Regions from separate parts of the Homo sapiens genome. Here regions 2, 3 and 4 are each linked to region 1. Evidence: promoter capture Hi-C in 16 types of primary human blood cells and fetal thymus (Javierre and others, 2016). All regions are on one chromosome and are shown on one strand. Each heading gives the region's core, a stretch centred on a gene start or on the middle of the fragment in contact. The rest is flanking DNA. Distances are from core to core; before and after follow the strand shown.

Region 1 (4,917 bases), core at 1,022-3,521:
GACCTACTTGCCTCAGTTGGCAGCTAGCCACTTCCCAGAAGCAGAGCCTTCTGACTGCCTGGCGATGAACCCGGATGCATGAGGGAGTCCAGCTGAGACCAGAAGAACTGCCCAGCTAAGCCCAGCCTCAAATACTGACCCATAAAATCATGAACTAAATAAGTAGTTATTGTTTTAAGCCACAACTAAGTTTTGGGGTGTTTTATTATGCAGGAAACACTGATGGATACAAGCACTGAACATGCGTCAAGCTCTGGTATTTGCAATCAGGCAGACTCTCGGGAGTAAAGACTTGTGCAGAGATGATAGAATAATGGGTATAATGCACTAAGTGCTCTGGAGAAGCAAAAACAGTAGGAATAGAAGAGGTGGATTTGAGCTAGGGAGGGATCTTGTCTCTGTGGAGTTAGAGGGTCCAGGATGAACTGCCTGGGACAGGGGACTGTCTGAGGGAAAGTATGAATGTTGGAAACCCCAGGCTGGGGCCATCAGCCAGCAGTATATACTGAGCCCTTACCATGGGTACAGAAACACTGTACTGGCTGTCTCAAGTCTGCGTATGGACTAGCAGAGGAGAGAAGACATCCACGTGTAAAAGTTGGGTAGAAGTGTCATGCTGGTTTTCAGTGAAAACAGAAGTAGCTATGCCTGCTTTGTCCACAGTGGCAAGCAGCATCTCGGCTTGGGCAGAATGGGACTCTACCCATTAGTTATTTATATCTGGTACTTGCTATATATCTGGCAGGGATGTGGTGTTGATGGGTTGAGAGAGATCTCCATAGTTTTCCCTGGGAAGGCACAAGGGGTCAGAAAACATGGCTGCTTAAGTATCCACTTGACTGGTAACCCCTTGAGGGCAGGGTCTGTGTCTGATTCATGTCAGTATACCCCAAGACACAAGGCTTTGCATATACTAAGCAATCAGTTTCAAAAGACTTACTTTGGAGATATTTATCATCCTCTTCTCTTTATTCCTACTAACCTATTGTAGTTTTTTCCTAGGGCTGCTATAACAAATGGACATAAACTGGGTGGCAACAGAAATTTATTCACTTACAGCTCTGGAAGCTATTAAGTCCAAAATCAAGGTGTCTGGAGGGTTAGTTCCTTTTTGGAGGCTCTGAAGGAGGAATTATTCCCTGCCCGTTCCTAGCTTCTGGTCCCTGCTGGCAGTGCTTGGCACTCCTGGCCTTGGAAATGCATCAGCTGATCCCTGCCGCCATCACCACAGGTGGTTCTCCCTGTGCGTCTCTTCTGTGTCTCTTCTCTTACAACGACACCAGTCTCAGTGGATTAGGGGCCCGCCCTACTCCAGCATGACCTTAACTCATTACATCTGCAACGGCCCTACTTCCAAATAAGATCACATTCTGATGAACTTTAACATATTGTTGGGGGTGGAGAGGGCATAAGTAACCCTTAACATCCATCGAGGCCCAAGGGAATGTGTGTTCTTTGACTGCCTAGACCCCCTAGAGGCGGAATTAAATATTCTTTTTTTTTTCTTTGAGACAGAGTCTCACTCTGTCCACTCAGGTTGGAGTGCCCATCTCGGCTCACTGCAACCTCCGCCTCCCGGGTTCAAGCGATTCTCCTGCCTCAGCATCCCGAGTAGCTGCGGCTACAGGCGCCTGCCACCACGCCCGGCTAATTTTTGTATTTTTAGTAGAGACGGGGGTTTTGCCATGTTGGCCAGGCTGGTCTCGAACTCCCGACCTCAGGTGATCCGTCTACCTCGGCCTCCCAAAGTGCTGGGATTACAGGCGTGAGTCGCCGCGCCCCGCCCTCAAGTCATATTTTATAGATGAGAACATTAGGATTGGAGACGCAGGGCCGAGACACAGGGCCTTGCATATACTAAAAACCTCAATGGGCACCCGAAGTCATCATAGGAAAATTTCCCTATGCTCCATGTTCACGTGTTTCAAAGTATCCCTGATCTGGCTAATTCAACTCCATTCCCTCGAGAAAACCCAATCTGGAGCCCCGGTCCTAGAGATCCTGGGATGTACTGCGCGTCCCACTCTGTATCTCCGCCCCCTCAGGCGTTCTCCCTCTAGAAGCAGCACACAAAGCGGTTACTCCCTGCGGCCGGGAGCGCGCGGGCTGCCCTTCCGCGCGCCACCCCCGCGCGCGCCGCTCCCCCACTGATTGGCTGAGCGCATCCCGAGCCCAGCCTGCTCCCGCCGCGGCGCCGGTCCTGGCGCCGGGATTGGCGGAGTGGCCGCGCGCGCAGATCCCGCAGCCCCGCGCGCCCCGCCCCGCCGGCTCGGAACTCGCCTGGGGCGCCGCCGGCGGCGGAGGGAGCGTGACTGCGCTGCGCAGGGCGCTAGGAGGCATTGTCGCCGTAAGTGGAGCCAAAAGCGGCCCGGAGCGGGACCACACGCTTCTTGCCCCGCAAAGTAAATGTAGTCCGAGGTCAAGCGTTGCAGGGGCTGGGGGAGAGAGGGCGAGAAGTGTTCCGATTTTTGCAGCGTCCCCTCCCCTCCCCCAGGTCACCCGGTGGAAAAGAGCAGCGGTGCACCAGCGGAGGCTCTGGCGGTGCCAAGGGGCTCGGCATGCGCGGGCTCTTGCTTGCTCACTGCACCTGGACCCCGATGGTTCAGGGGAGTGGGTGCAGAGGTGCCAGGGAATAGGGAGCTCGGAGAACCGCTCCCAGGCGGGCCTCCATTCCTCGCGGGAGGCGCCCTTGCTTGGAGAGGCTGCTGTGCATTTCGTCCCCGAAGCGACACTTTCGGGGTTTGCTTCCGCTCTGGGGAGCTGCAGACGCCTGCTCCAGAGCGTGCCTCTCGGCCTCCGGGCAGCGTGGGAGCCCCGGGGCCTCTGCGATCACTACCATTCTTCCCTCTGCCAGCTTTATTCTCCCAGTCCCCGCCTGCCGGGCCAGCGGACGAGGTGCCATTGGCTGCAGGCACCGGGGGTGAGGCGGATCCTGGCACGCGGGGCTGGGGGACCCTTGCCTGGCTACCGCGCGTAGTGCTGGAGGCTCAGTCCGAGGATGCCTAGATGTTAGCGAGGGAGCACGCGCTGAGCTTCCCGAACCCCATGCCACAAAAACAAGGCGCCAGCAGGTCCCGCTCACGTCCCAGCGGGCTTCTTTCCCTGGGGTGGGGAAGTGGGTCAACTTCGTTCTGATCTGAAGGGGGGTTTGGGACTATTTGGGTCGCTCCTCACCTCCCCACCCGCTCCCCGGCTTGGCATGGTCCAGAGCCCGGGCTGGAGCCAGCGGTAGGGCCAGCTTGCACACATGGCTCCGGAGGCTCCGGTTGCCCATCCGAGCCCCTGCCAGGCTCTAACGTTCCCAACTGACAACACCAGTAACTAAATATAGGAGCAGATGGTGGGGACGGGCTGTCGCAGCGGCTCCTTTGCAGAGGTCTCCGGACTGCAGATAAGGTAGAGTTATTGATGGTAAGGGCTGGAGTCAGGGGGCCAGGTCAGGGTTTAAGCAAAAATCACCCCTCCCCCAGCCAGCCTGAGTCCAGGTGAAACCAGGTTATAGGGACAGGAGGGCTGTATTGCCAGCTCCCCCAAAGCAGGACAACGTTTTTGTCTGGCATTGAATTTATTACATCCAAACTTCCTCTCTACACCTGTTTGATTACCTACTGGTAATGCCTTGGTGTGGGAAACATGTAATGGTTCGCAAAGTCCTTTCCCAAAAGTTACATATCAGTTACTTCCCACAATAATCCGGTGAGGAAGGTGGTATTTCCATTTTACAAATGGGACTGCTCACAACACTGTTAACTTTGCAAAACTATGGATTAGGCTGCCTTCCTCAAAAAACTTCTCTTAGTTCGCTACACAGAAGCAGAGGACAGCCTTGTAAGAGGGCTGCAGTTCCCTTCCTCAGTAATCTGGGAGCCCATTGGCTCCCTGTCTCTCTCTCTCCTGAATCTCTTTGTGCACCTGCTGCTCACCCCTGTCCCTTCCCCCTGGCCATGCCATGTGCCTTCATGCCCCCCTAGGCCTGGCCCTGTAGCCTTACTACTATCAGGCTCATCCTGCCTCCCAGTGGGAAGCTTGTTCTAGCCCATACCCAGTCTCTGCCCCTTTACTCCCACAGTGGGGGCCTTATGGAAGGTGTCCAGGAGACGTTTGCTGGATTTAAACATTTCACCGGACCAGGATGCTCACTCTGAGGAATGGGGTTGAGGGTGTGTGGAGAGGGCCATGCTTTGAGGATGTAGGCAGTGTGAGTATGAGCTTCGACCCTGTGCTGAAGTGTCTCTGGGATTTGGAGTGCTTTCCCTGACATTTTCTAAGGCCTACCCTCTATTGCCTGGGACTGGCTGGGGCCAGTAGTGCCAGCTGGCTGGGGTGCCCCAAGCGGCGATCTGGCCCATGTGGGCTGATGGTGTCTGTTTCTGCCTTTTGGAACACTCTGTGACTCTCCACTACCACCATCCCTGCAGATGGCATTGACCAGGTACCCTGAGGAGCTCAGGCCTGTCAGCTGGACTTCATGAAACAATTCTTCCTTGTGGAGAAAGGGGCAGTTTTAGGTGAAGGGAGGATGGCTTCCTAGCTAGTTAATAAGCGTGGTGATTTTAAGCAGCGGGAACCTTTTGGGGGTCCCGAGCACATTTTTGCTGTACTCAGAGCATCCTCCATCCTCTGGCATAGAAGGAAGGGGCCCTTCTTCCTACTGAATTGCCCTGACACCTAGACTTTACATGTTGTTTCTGTTCCTGTACCTGTGTACACTCTGACCCACACAATAGGACGTCTGAACTTGCCACCAGTGGTGAAATTTTTAATCTGACTAGTTTTCATCAGTGGTCTAAGGCAAGGGTCCTCAACCCCTGGGCTGTGGATGGCATAGGTCCGTGGCTTGTGAGGAACCCGGCTGCACAGCAGGAGGTGAGCACCAGTAAGCATTACCGCCTGAACTCTGCGTCCTGTCAGACCAGC
Region 2 (4,917 bases), core at 828-3,327, 250 kb after region 1:
AAGTGGTAAATTGTATATGTGAATTCTATTTTGATTAAAAAATTAGATGGTAAGCGGTCTGTCCTATTATTAAAGACATTATTTCTGCAAAAATGACATATGCTTGTTTGAAAAAAATTCAAACAATACAAAAGCTTAAGGAAGAAAATGAAAACATTATCTATGACCACTATTAGCACTTTGGTTCAGACAGCAGGTTTGATGTGTTGAGAATTGAACTTGGGCAAGTTGTTGAACTTTTTTCCAAAATAAGGAGAAAAAACTCATACCTTAAATCGAAGATATGGGCAAAAGTGCAACAGATGCTAACTGCTGTAATCATTACCTGTATATGTGTATACATACCGAGGTGGATGTGTCTTATTGGCCATAAATGGGATTAGATCTTTCATGTGGTTCTGTGGCCTGACTTTTTGGGACTGGGCAAACTAATCTGCAACATATATTTTATATATATATATATAAAACGTGGCTGCTGTGTATTCATTGCTACTCTGTGCCAGGCACCATGCTAAAATGCTTTACGTAAATGATCTCATTGAATCTTTTCTACAGCTCGAAATCACAGTGGCTTACCCCTGTAATTCCAGTGCTTCGGGAGGCTAAGGCAGGAGGATCCCTTGAGGGGCTAGGAGTTCAAGATCAGCCTAGGCAACATAGTGAGACCCTCATCTCTACAAAAAAAAAAAAAAAAATTAGCCAGCTCAGGAGTTCAAGGTTATAATGAGTTATGATCATGCCACTGCATTCTGGCCTGGGTGATAGAGCAAGACCCTGTCCCTAAGAAAATTAAAAATAAGTAAATAAATAAATAAATATTGCCTGACTTTTTCTTTTCTTTTTTTTACTTTTGAGACAGGGTCTCACATTGTTGCCCAGGCCGAAGTGCAGTGGTATGAAGCACTGATCCATGCTACAACTTGGATGAACCTTGAAAACATGTTTTGTGTAAATCAGATTGTGTATGTGTGTCTTTGTGTGTGTGTGTTGTGGGAGGGAGCAAAGGTAAAGTTACTCACTGCAGCCTCAAACTCCTGGGCTCAAGCAGTCCTCCTGCCTTTGCCTCCTGAAGTGCTAGGATTATAGGCAGGAGCCACCACACCCAGCCCTTGCCTGACTTTTTCATGGACAGACTTTTTGTATAAAAACGTCATTCACAGGCTGGGCACAGTGGCTCGCACCTATAATCCCAGCACTTTGGGAGGTCGAGGCAGGCCGATCACTTGAGGTCAGGAGTTCGAGACCAGCCTGGCCGACACGGCGAAACCCTGACTCTACTAAAAATACAAAAAACAATTAGCCGGGCATGATGGCACATGCCTGTAGTTCCAGCTACCTGGGAGGCTGAGGCAGGAGAATTGCTTGAACTCAGGAGGCAGATGTTGCAGTCAGTGAGCTGAAATTGAGCCACTGTACTCCAGCCTGTGCAATAGAGTGAGACTCCATCTCAAAAACAAAACAAAACATCACTCACCCTTTAAAAACAACTGGCTACACAGTACTGCATTGTATGGGTTTATAATATTTTATCCTGTAGCCTCTCATTGGTGGCAGTTTCCATTGATTGATGGAGTGTCACACAGGTGGAGGTTTGCACAGCACTACTGCTATGTTAGAACATACAACTGGGCATCCACTAATTCCATACGTGCATTTTCATCTCCTACAGGGTGTGTGGCTGGAAATGCAGCTCCATGGCTTAAGCCCTTGCTTTAGGTGTCTGGCCAAGTAGATCATGGCCAAGCAGAGGGGAGTTCACTGTTTTCTGGGGCCAGGCAAGAACCGACACTGGCAGAGCCAAAGAGAGTCGGCATGTCCAAGAGTATTGGGCAAGGGGCTGCCAAAGAGGCAGGGTGAAATCTGCTGGAGAGTCACTGGCCTCCCTATTCCACAAGTAAGCGTGGCAGGGGTCAGTAGAGGAGAGAGAAGAGAGAGAGAGCAGATTGCAGGAGAGGCCTCAGGCAGCCTGAAGAGGAAAAGTGCCTCCCCTCCCTGGCCCTGCTCTGGTCTGGGTGTCCCCTCAGGCCCCAGGCCCTTCACAGGGAACCCCAGATAAGCAATTTGCCTTCCTTGGGTGAGGCAAGAGTTTGCCCTTTCGGGGAAGCAGGTTGATGATACTAGGGGCCTGGGGGTCAAGGGCTTGGCTCCTTTGGTCAACTCATTGCCCCTGAGGTCCACTCTGGGGTCACTAGACTTTCTTTCCCTGGAGGAAACCCCATGAAGGGCCCGGAGCAGGCTTGTATGTCCACCTGATTGTCAAAGCTGCCCTGGCATGGCAGGCTGTCTGTCTGTCGGCCCCTGTCACCTGTCCTCTAAGCCTCTCCACCTTCTGCCACAGGTGCCCTGAACTCTACCTGCCTCCTCCCTTCCTGCCACTGGGCCTCTGGCCCAAGTTGTTTCCTCTGCTAGGAAGGCCCCCTGATCTCAGCTCTTTTTCAGGGCTCTAGGCTGTCCTTTTTGAGTGTCCCTGGGTGCTCCAGTGTGACCTGACGCACAGTGGACTCCCCTGTCCCTATCCCCGGCCAGCTGCGTAGCCCCTCTCAGGGGCCATGCCCAGCTAACTTGGAAGTGGGGCTTTCTGGGTGTTTTCTTGACCTCATCCCTGGCTGACAGCCCCAAGGGTAAGACCCAGCACAGAGGGTTGCACGCTGCCAGGGGCTGGTGAAACACACGCCACCCACGGCCTGCCTCATCACTGCCTACATTCTCAGGCCCTGCGCAGCTCCTGGTGTGCACTGCTACCTCTGGCTGGGCCTGTGGGCCCTCCTGGGTCCTGGTCCCTAGGAGACATTCCCTTCTGGCCCAGTTGGCAGATTCAGCCTGAGGTACGCTTGGGATTAGCTCTAGACAACCCTTCTGAGGGCTTAGAGGAGCCAGGGTGGCCCTGCCTGCCGGGGGGTTGTCTTGGGTCCTAATCTCTACGAGGGCTCAGCCTCCTCATCTGTGAAATGGGTATGTTCAAGCCTCAATGCTTTGGGGACCATTTGACCCACGAGAAACAACTTTAAATTCCCTCCAATCCATTGTGTCAGTGCCCTCCGTCCGCTCTACTGTCCGCCCCCAGGGGAGAAGTTAGGCAGTGGGCATTTGAACACCAATGGGAACAGTGCCCGGAGTTCTAACCAAAAGCTGCCCCATAAGTGTGGGATGATTTGGGGACCGTCTTGGGGAACCACCACCATGTCTTGGAAACCAGTGTGTACGAGGACAGCTCAGGATATTATAGCTGGTTGGGCCTTATAGTCCCCTCCCATTATAGGGGGTAAATTGAGGCCTAGAGAGGGAAGGGGTTGTGCCCCAGACCCGCAAAGATGATCAGGGCAGTGCAGTGGCCTTCCAGCGGCCTGAGGGTCCCAGATGAGCTGGAACACACTTCCTTATGAGGCTGTTCAGTGGCTTGATGTCTATCCTTCAAGGTTGACCTCAGAGTCTACTTCCTCCTTCGCTGACACCCGCTCCAGTCCCCCTTCCTGAAGCCCACAGCAGCTGTTGAGCCTCTGGGGCTGCTTTCTGTATAGTGTGAGTTTTGTTTCTTTTTCTCAGCATCTCCCCCCAGCAGCCTGGCTTATTTCTGCCTCTCTTTAGGGCTCAGCACAGGCCAGGAGGAGGGTTGATTGCTTGTCACCTCTCAGGGTCTCAGCTGCAGTCAAGAGTGCCCCTCAATGGGCTGTGCGGCTCCTCCCACACCAGCAGCCCTCTGCCTGCCTGAGGCCCACACTGCAAGCATCCTAATTTGGGGTTCTGCTGGGCTGGAGGCAAGGCCTCTGGTGCAGCCCCAGGCCAGCCCCTGGGCCCTCCTCTGTCTGGGGCAGACTCTGGGATGCACAGGTAACCCTGTTTACCAGCCTTCCAGGCTGGCTTGGGGAGCCCAGGCAACTTTGCTGCTGTAGGGCCCAAGGCTGTTGAGTTGGATAAAAGGCAACTTTATACAAATATAAAAATATAAATTTATTTAATGTGTGTATACACAGGAGCCTTCAGAAGGAAGACCCGACCCCCAAAAGAGGTACAGAAGCTTATATACCATCTTGAGGTCATACAAAGAAATGGGGACTGGGTGCAGTGGTTCATGCCTGTAATCCCAGCACTTTGGGAGGTTGAGGTGGGAGGATCACTTGAGCCCAGGAGTTTGAGACCAGCCTGGGCAACAAAAGGAGACCCCCATCTCTACCAATATTTATTATTTTTATTGTTTTATTTTTTTGAGATGGGGTCTCACTCTGTGGCCCAGGCTGGTGTGCAGTGGCATAGTTACGGCTCACTGCAGCCTTGACCTCCCTGGCTCAAGTGATCCTCCCACCTCGGCCTCCCAATTAGCGGGGCCTATAGGTGCCCATCACCACGCCTGGCTTTTTTTTTTTTTTTTTTTTTTTTTTTTTTTTTTGTAGAGACAGAGTCTCTCTATGTTACCCAGGCTGGTCTGGAACTCCTGGGCTCAAAAGATCCTCCTTCCTCAGCCTCCCAAAGTGCTGGGATTACAGGCGTGAGCTGCTACACCCAGCCCCATCTCTACAAGTAATTAAAAAATTAGCCAGGCATTGTAGCATATGGTTGTGGCCCCTCCTTCCTACTCCATGATCACAGTCTTAGTTCACACCACATTTGTCTTAGTCTGTTTTCTGCTGCTACAGCAGAATACTACAGACTAGGTAATTATAATGAACAGAAATGTATTGGCTCATGGTTCTGGAGGCTGGGAAGTCCAAGATCAAGGGCCCAGTGTCTGGTGAGGGCCTTCATGCTGAGTCATCCCATGGTGGAAGGCAAAAGAGAGAGCGAGAGAGAGGAAGAGCTTGAACTTGCAGCCTCAAAGCCCTTTTATAATTGGTATTAATCCATTCATGAGGGTGGAGACCGTATGACCCAAACACCTCCGATTAGGCCCCACCTCTTAACACTGTTCCTTTTTGGGAGACA
Region 3 (4,917 bases), core at 1,381-3,880, 160 kb before region 1:
TCAAACTCCTAGCCTCAAGTGATCCTCCTGCCTGAGTCTCCCAAAGTGCTGGGATTACAGGTGTGAGCCACTCTTCCCCTGGCCTGGCAGCCTCTTTATCTCTCCAAACTCCCCTCCCAAATGACCTCTGATCTTAGACCCAGATTGACCCCAGATGCCTTGCCCTGCCTTCCAGCTAGGCATCCACCCTTTGCCCCAATCAGGGCCTGATCCATGACCCTGAGCAAAAGCTGGGCCCAATCAGTCATTTCCCCAATGTGTGCACAGCTACAGCCGAGCATAGGGCTGGCTTGGGGCAGGCCCCCTCTGCAGGGGCCACAGGCAAGAGCTGTTTCTGAGAATTGCTGGCCAGCAGTGGGGAACACATGGCTGGTACATATAGCCCTCTCTCAGCACCATGGAATCCTCACCCCCTACCCACCGGCTCCCACCACTGCCCCTCCCACTCAGCACCGGCCTCTGTTCCAGAAGCCAATCAGATTCAATGGGCCAGAGAGGAACAGAAGTGAATACTCCACACAGAGACCCAGGCCAAAAACTCCAGAGCCCACACTAGCCTGTGGTCATGGGACTGGTCCAGTAGGGCCGAGTGCAACAGAGCAGGGAGTATTGGGGACCCAGGCAGGCTTGAGGGCACATTCTTTCCAGATAGGCTGAAAATCCAGATGGTTACATGAAATCTGGACTATTATGAAACTTTTTTTTTTTTGAGGAGTCTCACTATCACCCAAGCTGGAGTGCAATGGCACGATCTTGGCTCACCGCAACCTCCGCCTCCCGGGTTCAAGCAATTCTCCTGTCTCAGCCTCCCGAGTAGCTGGGACTACAGGCGCCTGCCACCATGCCCGGCTAATTTTTGTATTTCAGTAGAGATGGAGTTTCACCATGTTGGCCAGTCTGGTCTCTGACTCCTGACCTCAGGTGGTCTGCCTGTCTCGGCCTCCTAAAGTGCTAGGATTACAGGGGTGAGCCACTGCACCTGGCCAAAACTTTATTTTTATAATGTAATGAGTTATTTAAAAACAATTTTTACAGATAAAAAACACCCCATCTGGGAGCCAGCCCCAGCCCCAGGGCAGCACAGACATACCCACGTCCTGAGATGACAGCCTCCGTGCTAGTTGTGAAACAGCCACCCCAAGACCCTGAGGGTCTCCACCCACCCACTACCTGACTCCTGTCTGGGACCTCTGGTCCCCCCGCCAGGACCCAGAAACAAGAGGGTTAACGCCTGGCACCACAGGGCTCCTGGGTGTTCACTCTGATTGGCCACATCCTTGATTGGTCCTAGGGCCACAGCAGTTGTTGAATGCTTTGAACATGGCCCCTGCATGCATCTCCCCTACCACTCCAGAATCTGGTACCCATACCAGTGGGTCGGGGCTGGGGATGTGTCCATCTCATGGATCACTTCCACTTCCAGAAGGTGGAAAAGTGACCACGAGCCAAGGAGGGGCCCCTAGGACCCCTAGCAACCCCAAAGCCACATCAGCCACTCCCTGGCTGTGCACACCTGGAAGGGTGGCTGGGGCAGGGTGGGGTGGGGTGGGGTGGGGGCTCACCTGGCGGTAGGTGCAGATGATGATCTCCCGCAGGTGGTAGTGCATGGGCGTCATGGTCTCGCTGACAGTGTCCAGCGCTGCGTCCACCTCCTTCTTCACACGGTGCCCATCGGGTAGCAGCTGCACCACCTTCATTACTACCTGGGGCCAGAGAAGGGGGGTGAGCAGACATAAAACTGGTAAGAGCCCTCAGCCCAAGCACCAGGCTTGCACCCTCACCAAAAGGCCACACCAGGCCTAAGGCCCAGGCGCTGAACAGAGAGCCCTGCCTGCTCCTCAGTTCTCAGACTGAGGGAGGACAGGGGGATCCTGAACATCTCCGGGGCCAGGCTACCCAGATGCTTTTCTTTTTCCTCCACAATTGGGATTTATTGGTTGTGTTGAGGATCAGTACACAGACATTGAATTTGTACCGAATATCTAAAAAAGGCATGGATTATGATTCCTTTTTAGTTATTCCATTGACATTTATTGTTGTTGTTGTTGTTGTTGTTTGGAGACAGAGTCTCACTCTGTCATCCAGGCAGGAGTGCAGTGGCATGATCAGGGCTTACTGAAGCCTCAACTTCCTGGATTCAGGTGATCCTCCTACCCCAGCCTCCTGAGCTGCTGGGACTAAAGGCCCATGCCACCACGCCTGGCTAATATCTTGTACTTTTAGTAGAAACGGGGTTTTGGCATGTTGCCCAGGCTAATCTCGAACTCCTGGGCTAAAGCAATCCACACCCTTGGCCTCCCAAAGTGCTGGAAAGTTATTCCATTAACTTTCCAGCTTAAAATTTGGAGGCAAATTGTTCTTTAAGAAGATATTAAGTACCAGTATTTTCAAGTGTTGATAAACTGTGGCATAAGCCCCACCAATCCACAACTTAATGTCTTGCACACTACACAGATTTTCAGTGTCCAAGCACATCAATAGAGTTACTAGGAAAACGGGACTGCCACAGCCAAAGACATCACAGAGTGCACACAGTTCTCACAGGAGAGCCACAATCAAGAAGTGGTTTACATTAGAAATAATTCTACAAAAAAAACCATGGGAATATAAGTCATTTAAGATGTTCAAGACATATTAAATGCACGACTGTGACTCCAAATTGCCATTTTGTATGCTTTGTATTACATGATACAAAAACCACCCCAATGCACCCATGGAATGTTAAGCTGATCTAAGGTGCTTATTTTTGTTTTGTTTTGTTTTGTTTTGCTTGAGATGGAGTCTCGCCCTGTCACCCAGTCTGGAGTGTAGTGGTGAGATCTCGGCTCACTGCAACCTCTGCCTCTTAGGTTCAAGAAATTCTCCCGCCTCAGCCTCCCGAGTAGCTGGGATTACAGGCACCTGCCACCGCACCCAGCTAATTTTTGTATTTTTAGTAGAGACAGGGTTTCACCATGTTGGCCAGGCTGGTCTTGAACTCCTGGCCTCAGGTGATCCACCCGCCTAAGTCTCCCAAAGTGCTGGGATTACAGGCATGAGCCACCACGCCTGGTCGAGGTGCTTATTTTTTAAGCAGTAGAAATCCTGCTTCAAATGAGGCCTCATGCAGAACTTTGATCTATAAAACAGATAGCTGTCACGTACTAGGGCTGGAGGGGTGAGGAGGGGGTGTAAGAAGCCTCCCCACCCTCCTCCTAACCTGCAGCAGCCCCCAGCCACTGCGCAGACGCTCAGAGTTGGACACCACTCATCTGATATAATTCCCCACCCCAGCCAGGTGCAGTGGCTCATACCTGTAATCCCAGCACTTTGGGAGGCCGAGGTGGGGAGATCGCTTGAGGCCAGAAGTTCAAGACCAACCTGGCCAACATAGTGAGACCCCATCTCTGAGTAATAAGAAAAAGAAAAAAGAAAAAAAATGATATAATCTGCCCCTTACTGCTGGGAAAACTGAAGCCTGTTTAGGTTACTCTATGGCTTTTCCCCCACAGGCCCTCCCAGCCACCCTGTGCTGAGTTCCCCTCCAAATCTGTCTACACTGCACCTCTCTACAGCTGGCACCTGATCCAGACCCCCATCCCCCTTTGCCTCCACAGCAGTACCCTTCTGACCAGCGTCTCCACCTCCTCCCCGCCCTCCCTCTCCCTGGTGGCCAGAGAGGTCTTACGAAAGTATAAATGTGAACCCATGTTGTATAATCCCCGGGCTTTGATCTCTTCATGGCTCTCTTACACTCAGCACAGAAACTGGGGTCTAAAGGCTCCCCGCACCACTGGGTCCAGCCTACCTCTCCAGCATCACCCATAACCCCTCCCACCACCTACCCCCACCACCCTGCAAGGTCCCCACAGCGCCCTGTCCCGTGGTCGACAGCCACCTGCTCATCTGCTTCCACTTTCACACCTGCTCCCCACTAAGTGAGGGGCTTTCTGCCGGCACCTGGAGTGGTGCCTGGCACCTGCCCGGTGCCCCAGCATCAGCTGCCCAGTGAATGAATGAACACCTAACTCGCTCTCTTCTCTCTCTGGCTGCCACTTAAGAACAGGGAAGGGCCTTTCCCCAACTCCTGCGTTTCTCAGAGTCCTGGCCTGGTGCTGGGCACCCCAGCAGGCATGGAGTTGCAACCAAGTGGGAGGAGAAAAAGGAACAGTCTGGAAGGAACTAGTGGCAGATCTGGCTCAGGCTGTGCCCAGGGGAGTAGGAGGGAGCTGTCCAGTCCACATCCCCAATCCCAAGCTCTAGGCAGGTCCCCAGGAGGGTGCAGGGAACTGCGTCCTCTGGGGGCCACCTCAGACAGAGGGCTGCAGCTCTTCACAGGGAACCCAACTCCTGGCCTCTGCTGCAGCTGTTCCTCCCCTGAATTCCACATCGACAGCTGTCACTACTGCAAAGCCAGAAACTCGAGGTCATCCTAGGTGCCCTCCTCACCCCACATCCAGGAGCCCTCAAGACCTACCAATGAGGACTGGGCTGCTCCTGCTCACCCTGCAGCCCCTCCTCACTCAGCTCCTGCCTCTCCCTCCACTCCCCAGTCCACATATAACTGCCTGCTGGGGCCCCCAGACTGAGAGCCTGATCACAACCTCCTCTGCCTCCCTCCTGGCCTCACGGTCAAGGTCAAACACATAGTGCAAACCTCCAGGGCCTTCACAATATGGGCCCCCACCCCTCAGTCCTGCCTGCTTCCCTTCTGACAAATCACAGCCTTACATAGTTCCTGCCCTTTCCAGAATCCCTCCTTTGCACACTTGATCCCTCCAGACACTCCCCTCCTCACCAAGGATACTCACTCATCTTCCCCAAAGGCACTCAAATGCTGCCTCCTCTATGAAGTCCTCTCAGGCTCCCTCAGCTGCACTCTTGGCCCTTAGAACCAGTGTCTGCTCTGGGCCTCTTCACGCTCTATTGATCCTTTCT
Region 4 (4,917 bases), core at 1,122-3,621, 170 kb after region 1:
CTCTGCTTCCTGGGTTCAAGCGATTCTCCTGCCTCAGCCTCCCAAGTAGCTGGGATTACAGGCATGCACCACCACGCCTGGCTCATTTTTGTATTTTTAGTAGATACAGTGTTTCACCATGTTGGCTAGGCTGGTCTCAAACTCCTGACCTCAGGTGATCCACTCTCCTCAGCCTCCCAAAGTGCTGGAATTACAGGCATGAGCCATCATACCCAGCCTAAAACCACACATCTTTAAAGTAAACGTTTGGGTCTATATTTGTGTTTCCCTATTGTCTCAGTTATTGAGTAGTTGGCTTTTGCTTGTTTTAAATAGGATCATTATCTGTTTTAAAGCTTAAATTTAGTTTAGCATTAGATGTGTAGTAGGAGCTACAGCATTTAATTGAAACTCTTGTGTGTAGTTAAGATTCTTAAATGCGAATAAAGAACTAAAACAATGAGAAAAAAGTAGCTGAAGAGTCATAGGATGTTATCTGTTATTCTCAACATGATCCATTTTGTCAGTATGTATAGGAATGATATACACTGTCTTATATTTTTAGACTTGGGAAGACCCAGGGCACAATGATAAACATACTGGCTGTTGTGGTGACAATGACCCAATTGATGTGTGTGAAATTGGAAGCAAGGTAATGAAATGTGACATTTTTTTCTTTAGTGTTGAGATATTAATGAAGTATACCAAATTTCATACTTTAAAAAATACTGTGAATAAAATGCATGAATATTAGTGAAATAATGATGTCTCTTTGGTATTAAAGGCTTCTTGCATTTTAAGCATTTGTATATTATAATTTTTACATTTAAATCTAGTCTGGAAAAAAATGTGTCTATGTATGTATGATTGAACATATATCTAGAAGAACTGGACATGTTCTGCATTGCTTTAGAAGATGGATAATTAGTCAATAGGTGAAAGGTACCAGGAGGGAAATTCCCTCTCAAAACATGGCAAATCTTGCCTAACAATTTAGAATGATCAGTAAATTGACCCGAACCAAATAACCTCATGAGTTGGAGATCCATGGTAGTAACTCCTCCATCAAGTAGGGTTGTTCTAAGATTCTGATTATAGTTATTTCTTTATGTCTCTCTCAGGTGCAGAGAAATAGTAAACAACTAAAAACAAAGTTATCATTTTGTTTTTTAAGTCATAAAGTTTTTGAGTCATCGTATGACTTGCTTAACTCATGACTTTTATAAAATAAAAGGTAAAGCATATTAAGATACGTATTTGAGACTATGGAGGACTTATTCTTCAGTATAATCAATGACAGTGCAAAAAACATTGATTACCCTGAGCTATGTACTGGTTTCCCTATGACCTAGAAGAAAATAGGACCTATAAGTCCTGTTTTCAACTTTAATAGGACTGATGAAACATTTACTCATTTAGGTTTTTAAAATTTGCTTAAAGGAACAATCTTCAGGTAAATTCTCAAGAACTTGGCCTCTTTCTTATTTCCTGTTAGCCAAGTAAAACTGTCTTCTAGAGTGTGGTTCTGTAATGTTGTCCTGACTTTGGCTATTGACTCTCAGGTATGTGCAAGAGGTGAAATAATTGGCGTGAAAGTTCTAGGCATATTGGCTATGATTGACGAAGGGGAAACCGACTGGAAAGTCATTGCCATTAATGTGGATGATCCTGATGCAGCCAATTATAATGGTAAGAAAATTTGAAAAGTCTGAAGTCTTTCTAATTAATTCATAAGCACCACCATACTTAACCTATAATGACAGAATTGTAAGCCCTTACCTTCAAACTGTTAAAGGATGGAGGAACAAAGCACTGGACAAGCATTATTTCTATGACTGCACTTGTAATTAACTAAGTAAACTTTCTCCTTCATTCCAGGAAAGAAAAAATCTGGTAGGTTCTTACTGTTTTTTTGGTCCTTTCCTTCCCCACATACCAGCACTCAGTTGGTATGTTTATTTATTTTAAAACATTTAATTGAGATATTCACATATCAAAGAGTCACCATTGTAAAATGTACAATTCAGTGGTTTTTAGTATATTCACTAAGTTGTACAACCATCACCACTCTCTAATTGCAGAACATTTCATCAGCCCAGAGGAAATCCTGTATCCATGGGCAATCACTCCCTGTCCCCCTTCCCTCAGTCCCTGATGACTGCAGATCTACTTTGTGCCTATGGATTTGCCTATGCTGTTATTTCATGTAAATGGCATCATATAGGTGGCCTCTGTGTCTGGTTTATTTCACTTAGCGAAGTAAGTGTCTTCAGGATTCATCCGTATTGTAGTATGTATCAGCACTTCATTCCCTTTTTTTTTTTTTTTGGTGGTAAATTTTACATAACATAAAATTCACCATTTTAATTAAAGTGTGAAATTCAGTGGCATTTCATTCATTCACAAGGTTGTGCAGCCATCACCACTAGTTCAAGTCATTCCCTATTCCCTCCTCCTCTCCAGGCCCTGGCAGCCACTAATCTGCTTTTTGTCTTTATAGCTTTGCCTATTCTACCTATTCTAGGTATCTCATATACATGGACTGGTACAATATATGGATCTTTGTTGTTGCTGTTTCTGGTTTCTTTCACTTAGTATAATGTTTTCTAGGTTTATCCATATTGCATATTGTGGCATCTGTCAGTACTCCTTTTTATGGTTGAATATTATTCCATTGTGTGGATATACTACATTTTGTTTATCCATTCATCAGTTGATGGACATTTGGGTTGTTTTGGCTGTGTAATGCTGCCATGAACATTCCTGTACAAGTTTTTGTGTGGACTTATGTTTTTATTATTGGGTACATACATAGGAGTTGCCAAAGCTAGAACACTTTGAGCAAGAAAATAAAGTAGTATTGTAATATAACCTGGAACATAAAATAAATCTCCATGAGTCTATACTGACAAATAAATGATTGAATAAATAGACAAATGAGGAAGAATAGACAAATCTCAAAGCAGAAGAATTCCAAATAATTTATGCAGATACTCCATTCTCAAGGAGGTCCTTAATTGTGAGTTGTGCCTGGTGACTTCCTTCCAAAGAGTACAGTGTGGGTAAGGGAGAGGAGAGGATGACTTTAGAGCAGAGAAACTTGACAAACACTGCCTCAGCCAGGTGATGGAGGTCAATGTCAGCAGTGATAAGAGTCACCTTGAGAGCATGTTCCCTCAAAATGATGTGATGTATATTTGCATCTGTGTTAATTCATTGAAGAAGGACTGGAAGAATGCCAATCCTTTAATGTTTCGTTTCAATTTTGAAAGGTGAGAGTGCATTCACACCATCTGTTCACTACTTGGTAGTACGGCTCTGTTCTGTTGGTCCGTGTGTGCATTTCCAACGTGCTTCTTATGCAAGAGAACTTGGCATGCTGTGGCCACAATTAGTGAAGCCAAGCCCATCACTCTGTCAGCACTCATTTACTAAGGCTTTATTTTCCTGCAGTTCAGGTTATTAGAACCCTGAAAACTTTCTCGGGGTGGCTGGTCCCATGGCGCAAGTAGTATGCAGCTTTCCCTAATGTCAACCTAAGGCAGTGTCTATTGTCCATCCTATAGCTTGCCCCTGTGCATCTCTTCCATTTGCTGTCCCTGAGTTGTATTTATATAACGAAATTTAAACTTCAGTGTTTTCCTGAGTTCTGTGAACCATTTTAGCAAATTAGGGGACCTGGGGAGAGGATTGTAGAAACCCCTAATTTATAGCTGATAGTCAAAAGTACAGGAGGCATCTGAAGTGGGGCAGTCTTGTGAGACTGAGCCCCTAACCTTTGAGATCTGATGCTAACTCCAGGTAGATAGTATCAGAATCACAGTGAATTACTGAGCACTCAGTTGGTGTCTGAATAATTGGAGAATTAGTTTCTGTTATTGGAAAACATCAACATTTGCATGTTGGATTTCTGGATTTCCAAATTATTTCTATATCAGGTGACACATTTCATGTAAATTATAAGTTCTTTGAAATTTACTAGTGCTTAAACATTTCCCAGTGCATTCTGTAAAGTTTCCATACTTTTAGTGATATTATGATAATAGAATGCATGCTATTCTTTATGCAGATTATAAATTGGATTGAAGCGGCCGGGCGCGGTGGCTCACGCCTGTAATCCCAGCACTTTGGGAGGCCGAGGCAGGCGAATCATGAGGTCAGGAGATCGAGACCGTCCTAGCTAACACGAAACCCCATCTCTACTAAAAATACAAAAAAATTAGCCAGGCATGGTGGTGGGCACCTGTAGTCCCAGTTACTCAGGAGGCTGAGGCAGGAGAATGGCGTGAACCCGGGAGGCAGAGCTTGCAGTGAGCCGAGATTGCGCCACTGCACTCCAGCCTGGGAGACAGAGCGAGACTCCTTCTCAAAAAAAAAAAATAAATTGGAGTGAAGCAATGTTATCTTATACAAATATAAATAAGCTTTTGTTATTGTTGAATGTATTTCTCTTCCTCATAATACTTTTCCTAACTGACTTTTTAGGATGTGTATCTCTGTTTGCTTGCATTGAGCAGGAGTTTGTTATTTGAAGTGCAGTTTGATAACATTGAGGCTAGCCATTGTTGATGGCTATACAGAAACTTAAAATTTTTAAAGCAGTGCACTTTTCTGTCAGCCAGAACTAAAGTATTGTTATGTACAGTGCCTGTACTATCCAGCAAAGTCTAGTCACATTTAATACGTAACCCATCAATGGATATCAATCTAATCTATTTTTCTTATCTTTTAGTATGTAATAGTGTTGTGATCCTCTGACATAGCCTCTGCCTCTGGACCAGGGATAGTACCTCAAGCCTGTAATCCCAGTGCTTTGGGAAGCCAAGGCAGGAGGATTGCTTGAGCCCAGGAGTTTGAGACCAGCCTGGGCAACATGACGAGACCCCATTTCTACAAAAAATTTAAAAATTAGCTGGGCGTGTGCATGCTTATAGTCCC

The links. The method cuts DNA at HindIII sites, captures the fragments that hold promoters and counts their contacts. A CHiCAGO score of 5 or more calls a contact.
Region 2: a fragment that was not itself captured here is called in contact with the fragment with the promoter of LRRC20 in region 1 in 1 of 17 cell types (activated CD4 T cells); the score reaches 5.9 in activated CD4 T cells.
Region 3: a contact is called between a fragment that was not itself captured here and the fragment with the promoter of LRRC20 in region 1, in 1 of 17 cell types (M2 macrophages). The highest score is 5.9, in M2 macrophages.
Region 4: a contact is called between a fragment that was not itself captured here and the fragment with the promoter of LRRC20 in region 1, in 9 of 17 cell types (total CD8 T cells, neutrophils, monocytes and 6 more). The highest score is 7.4, in total CD8 T cells.

The regions. Positions count from the first base shown.
Region 1 is chr10:70,379,979-70,384,895 of GRCh38, reverse strand. It overlaps LRRC20 (leucine rich repeat containing 20), which reads left to right and starts at 2,271. Exons shown (of 5, transcript NM_001278212.2): 1 at 2,271-2,347. RefSeq lists enhancers at 1,767-1,866, 2,397-2,596, 2,441-3,060 and a silencer at 1,997-2,366. The HindIII fragment of the contact is 9,077 bases long and covers 1-4,027 here.
Region 2 is chr10:70,124,905-70,129,821 of GRCh38, reverse strand. The region is part of intron 1 of AIFM2 (AIF family member 2); the gene reads left to right. Among named protein-coding and RNA genes, the nearest start is that of AIFM2, 5.5 kb to the left of the region's middle. The HindIII fragment of the contact is 3,881 bases long and covers 137-4,017 here.
Region 3 is chr10:70,544,092-70,549,008 of GRCh38, reverse strand. It overlaps PALD1 (phosphatase domain containing paladin 1), which reads right to left. Exons shown (of 20, transcript NM_014431.3): 18 at 1,563-1,703. Among named protein-coding and RNA genes, the nearest start is that of PRF1, 56 kb to the left of the region's middle. The HindIII fragment of the contact is 5,823 bases long and covers 1-4,917 here.
Region 4 is chr10:70,210,214-70,215,130 of GRCh38, reverse strand. It overlaps PPA1 (inorganic pyrophosphatase 1), which reads left to right. Exons shown (of 11, transcript NM_021129.4): 5 at 545-631; 6 at 1,542-1,668. Among named protein-coding and RNA genes, the nearest start is that of PPA1, 21 kb to the left of the region's middle. The HindIII fragment of the contact is 4,068 bases long and covers 338-4,405 here.